Linked DNA regions of Homo sapiens: region 2 is linked to region 1. Evidence: promoter capture Hi-C in human tissues and cell types (Jung and others, 2019). All regions are on one chromosome and are shown on one strand. Each heading gives the region's core, a stretch centred on a gene start or on the middle of the fragment in contact. The rest is flanking DNA. Distances are from core to core; before and after follow the strand shown. Region 1 holds the start of OR10D3 (olfactory receptor family 10 subfamily D member 3). Region 2 has its middle 14 kb from the start of OR10G7.

What was found. Contacts are between HindIII fragments. The study calls those that stand out against the background at their distance.
Region 2: a fragment that was not itself captured here is called in contact with the fragment with the promoter of OR10D3 in region 1 in 1 of the 25 tissues and cell types used here (pancreas).

Annotation. Positions count from the first base shown.
Region 1 is chr11:124,182,095-124,184,816 of GRCh38, reverse strand. It overlaps OR10D3 (olfactory receptor family 10 subfamily D member 3), which reads right to left and starts at 1,472. Exons shown (of 2, transcript NM_001355213.3): 1 at 1,434-1,472. The HindIII fragment of the contact is 12,854 bases long and covers 1-2,722 here.
Region 2 is chr11:124,053,536-124,056,235 of GRCh38, reverse strand. It overlaps the pseudogene OR10D5P. Among named protein-coding and RNA genes, the nearest start is that of OR10G7, 14 kb to the right of the region's middle. The HindIII fragment of the contact is 4,298 bases long and covers 1-2,700 here.

The DNA of each region.
Region 1 (2,722 bases), core at 223-2,722:
ATGTCTACGTTTTTTAAGGGAATCATAAAGGTTGATCCCTGCTTTGCAGTTCAAAACACTTATACAACATGATCTCCGTTCATCTAATCCTGGCAGTCACTTTTTGAGGAGGTCTACAGAAAAGATTACATTTGAGCAGTAGGAAGGCTAGGTGACTCTCCTAAATTAAGGCAGCTAGTTCTTGGTAGAACTAGGCATCTACATTCTTTTTTTTTCTTTTTAAACATCAGTCTTTCCCCCGGGTCTGGATGGATCCATCTGTGATAGATCACGGCATTACTGGCCTTGTCAAATCTTACCCCGGTATTAACCATGTTTTTCATTTGGACATCACCAGGCTCTTAAAATGTTGTTCCTCCTCCTCCTTAGTAAGCAATGGAAAATCAATATATATCCAGCTACCTCCCCACACACACACAAATATAACATCTAGGAGAGTAAATATTTTTTGTGTTTACGATTATACTCTCAGTGCAAAGAACAGTGCCTTTTTCAATAAACGTTTGATGAAGGAAATAAGATAACTCACTCAATGCCTGGCAAGAATTGGATATCATTCCTCTTGTGCAAGGATCTGTGTGGTACTATCAGATAGTAATTTCTCCTCACAGTCTTCTAAAGCAACTTGATCATCTACCTGTTTCTCTTTTGCCCATTTCCTGTATATTTGGAATTTCTCTGTTTACAATCATGTCACCTGCACTCCAGAAGAAGCTCTACACTACATTCCAAAAAGCAATCAGACCCAAGACAAGTGCTACATATAATCTATACTGCTTCCAAAAATGTCCTGGCTGTCATACATCAAAGAAAGAATCAAATGAAGATATCCACATATGGGCTCATTTAGAGTTTCTGTTACTTTAATAATATAAAATCAAGTCCAAATTCCTGATTGTAAAGTGAAATAACAAGAATGGGGTTTGTGAGCTGATGGGCCAGCACAATGGGCTCAAAGATAAACCAAGCAAATAAGATCTATTCTTCTGGCCAGTAGATCCATGCTCTCTGTTCATTCTGAATTCTGAGAATACTTTGTAAACTGAGGACTCCAAATTTTCCTCTCCATTGGATACACAAAGCATAAAAGAGGAGTGAAAAAAGAGGTGAGGGCCCCTATAATTTCAGCTACTCTGGAGACTAAGGCAGGAGAATTGCTTGAACCCGGGAGGTGGAGGTTGCAGTGAGCTGAGATCGTGCCACTGCACTTCAGCCTGGCCAACAGAGTGAGACTCAGGGAGGGAGGGAGGGAGGGAAGGAGGGAAGGAGGGAAGGAGGCAGGGAGGGAGGGAGGGAAGGAAGGAAGGGGAAAGAAAGAAAAAAAAAGAAAGAGAAAAAAAGAGAAAGAAAGAGAAAGAGAGAGAAAGAGAGAGAGAAAGAGAGAGAGAAAGAAAGAGAGAGAAAGAGGCAAAGATGGCACTTATGTAACTTACAAAGAGAAAGTATGATCATTTAATCATCTGTTTGTATAGGATTTTTAGTCCAAATTTTCCTTTGGCATATTAGAGGTTAGGGATCTCCACCCATGATCTGGAATGCTTTCTTCTTAGCCAAATAAACTCTGACTAAATGACATGCAGCAGCGTGCGTCTCTGTCTTCTGCACAGACATCTTCCAAGACACTGATATCTACATTGCTTTCTCCTACGTGGAAATTTAAATATCTTTGGAGCCTTTGGGACCCCATTCCTGAATGAGTCCTATTCAAGGAGGTTGTTGAGCAAAGGGAGTAATTAGAAGTGAGTAAACTGTCTAGTTGAAATAGAATATGGTGATGTTTCCCACTGTGACAGTGCTGGATAGGAACAAGGGGGAGCCAAATCTCTATTTTCTACCTCTAAGATTGACCCTGGGAAAGGAGAAAAAAGGTGAATGGTATAGCCCAATCCTAGGACATATGTAGAAACCAGTTACCCAGTTTCAGGATACATTATCGGAATGAGAAATAACCTAACAACCATATATCTCAGACTTTTAAAAATATCCAATTTTAAATATTTTAATCTCAGTTTCTTCATAGTTCTTGCCATGAACTGAATTGTGTTCCTTCAAAAATTCGTGTTGAAACTCTTAACACACCCAATCCACGTAACTGTATTGGAAGTAGGGTCTTTAAGAAGGTGAATAAAGTTAAATGAGACCATAAGGATGAAGCCCTGATGCAATAGAACTGGTATCTTTGTAAAAGGAGAGACATCAGATCTCTCTCTCTGTCTCTTTCTCTCTCTCTCTCTGCCTGTCTTTTTCTCTCCCTTTATCTCTCCATGTGAGAACACAGCAAGAAGACAGCCCCATCTCTAAGCCCCAGAAACCAAACCCTGCTGCAAAACCTGTGCAACCTTGATCTTGAATTTTACAATCTGCAGAACTGCGAGAAAAAAAATTCCTGTTGTTTGTGTCACCTAGTATATTCTGTTTTGTTATGGCAGCCCTAGTGAACTAACATAGTTCTTCTACTTTTCAGACTATGGTTTCTAATATTTTGATATAGAAATAGAATTTCTTTTCCTAGACTCCAACAAACATTTGTCAATTGGCACAGCTGAATTTCCTGAACCAGAAATAGTTCTCCTGATGATATTCCCAGAATTATATCAAAGTATTATTCAACAAACATTAATTAATAACCTATACAACCAAGAATAAGACAAATTTCCTTAATCTTGACCTTCTCTTCTGTGAAAGGAGTCAAGAACCTTGCCCTTTGAGATTCCAGACATTT
Region 2 (2,700 bases), core at 123-2,622, 130 kb after region 1:
AAGTGCTGGGATTACAGGCGTAGGCCACCATACCCAGCCAGATAATTTCTTGGTATCAGACTCAGACATATGTCATCCATCAAAATATAGACTCAAAAAAAGTTATAGAAATCAATGGAGCAAATTTAATGTACTAGATTTGCTGGCAAATTGAAGAATATTCTGTGTAAACCGAAAAGAAGCTCCTGAGAGAAGTATTTATGTTACCATTTAGACACTACAGAAGCAGCATTAGCACATGGTTAAGACGCTTTGGGTCACATTTTCGCCCAGCAAGTTTTTAACTCCATGACACTGCAGAAAGATCTCAGCCTCTCAGTGCCTTAATTTTCCCTCGTAAATCGAGATAATAGTATTATCTACTTCATATGATTATTATAATCATTACATGTATCAGTATTTGTAAATAGCGCCTGGTACTCAGTCATCAAACAAAATATAGGAGCTAATTGCCCCCAGATAAATTCAAGACAAAGCTGTAAAGACAGACCAGGATATAAAGCTTACCTTCCACAATTATGTACTCCTTGAATGAGCACCTTTCTCAGTGCCAGCTTTACACCTTTGTTTCTCAAAGTATATATCAAAGGATTCAGGGAAGGGATAACAATATTATTCAACACCTGAACCACAGAGTCCAGCCAAGGGCTGGAGGCAGGTCGGAGATAAATGAGGACTATTGGTCCATAGAAGAGCAGGATGGACGTCAGATGGGCACTGCAGGTTGAGAAGGCTCTGCGCCTACCTTCTGAGGAACTGATTTTCAGTATAGAGATAACAATGCAAGCATAAGAGGTGAGGATAAGAAGAAAACACATGAGCGCAACAACACCTACGTTGATGAAACTCACTGTCCGTGCTAGAGAGGTGTCTGCGCAGGCCAGGGGCAGCACCACCGGAATATCACAGAAAAAAATTGTCCACTTCATTGGGGCCACAGTAGGATAACTTAAAGATGAGGAGTGTGAGGACAGATGCATGCAGACAGCTCCCCGTCCAGGTGCCTAGCGTCAGGAGGGCACACACCCTGCGTTTCATGATGACCGTGTATGGCAAAGGGTGGCAGATGGCTGCAAATCGGTCATAGGCCATCACAGTGTACAGGAAACACTCGGTGCAACCCAGGAAATGGTGAAAGAAGAGCTGGGAGGCACAACCCTGGAAAGAGATGGTGCAGCTTTGTCCCACTAAGCAGAGCATCATTTTGGGGGAACTCACTGAAGGGAAAAATATGTCAAACACAGACAGGTTTCCCAGGAAGAAATACATGGGGGTGTGGAGGTTGGAGAAAGTGAGGACGGCCAGAAGAATGAGTAGGTTCCCCAGCAAGGTGAAGAGGTAGAAGGCCAGAAATAAGACAAAAAGCACATTTTCCATCCCCTTTGTATGAGGGATTCCCATCAGGGGGACCTCAGTTACTGGAGTGTGATTCTTTATCTTCATGTCAAATTAGTCCTGGAACATCAAACAATGGCCTCACTGAGATGAGTTTTTCCTGCAAAAAACTCTTTATAGAGCCTATCGCAAACTGATAATAAGTATATAGAGTGGAGAACTTCTAAATAAGACTCAGTTCAATCCTGTCATTAATTATTGAGTGACATTTGGGTAAGTTATTAATCTATTTTTCATCTGTTTCCTCATAAGTAAAATGAAGAGACAACACTAGAGTTGATATAGAAGAGAAGGTGTAGAATAAACTTTACAACTGGAAGTATCTGAGTTTACATACTAAACACGCTGCCCACTCTGACATCAGATGACCTTGAAAAAAACTCTTTAAATCTTTTCTGAATATATATAAATAGTAAAATAATATATTATGGTTCCTGTGTACATTAATGCATTGATGTCTGCAAAGTACCCATATAATTTTGGCTCCTACCCATCTTTGTTAAAAAATTTATTCATCAAATTATTTAATGTGTGCCTTATTCCACAGCATTTCTCTAAGTTGACTTGTAGCAGTTCTGAGATTACCCATTCATGTGACTGATCCGGGAGGCAGCTTTCTCAATCAGCAGCTAGAGTAACTGAAAACTGAGAATTGTCTAATGGGTGTAAAACAGAAAGGAAGCCTGGGCATGGCGGCTCACACCTGTAATCCCAGCAGCTTGGGAGGCCAAGGTGGCAGGATCACTTGAGCCCAGGGATTTGAGACTAGCCTAGGCAATACAGTGACGCCTTGTCTCTTCAAAAATTTAAAAAAAAAGGAAAAGAAAAAGAAAAAACTAGCTGAGTGTGGTGGTGTATGTCTGTAGTCCCAGCTACTTGGGAGGCTGAGGTGGGGAGATCCTTTAAGCTGAAAAGGCAGAGATTGCAGTGAGCCAAAATCATGCCACTGCACTCCAGCCTGGGTGACAGAGTGAGACCCTGTCCCAAAAATAACTTAAATAAAAATAAAGAAATAAAAGAATAGAAAAGATGATATGTAGGTAGGAAAAAGCAATAGATAATTACTGATATTAAAAACAGCCATTTCTTTTAATAGAGTTTAGTGTCCAATAGCAATTATATCTGTGACTTGACTGCAAATAATCATCATTTTTCCTAGAATTAGCTTTATAATTCCCCATTATCACTTTACATCTTATTCATTTCCTAAAATTTCTAAGGTTAAGCTTCATTAATCAGGTAATAGCTCAATAAAATACCATGGAGTCAACTAAGTCAGATTTAGCCCAAAGTCAAACAGAGCCA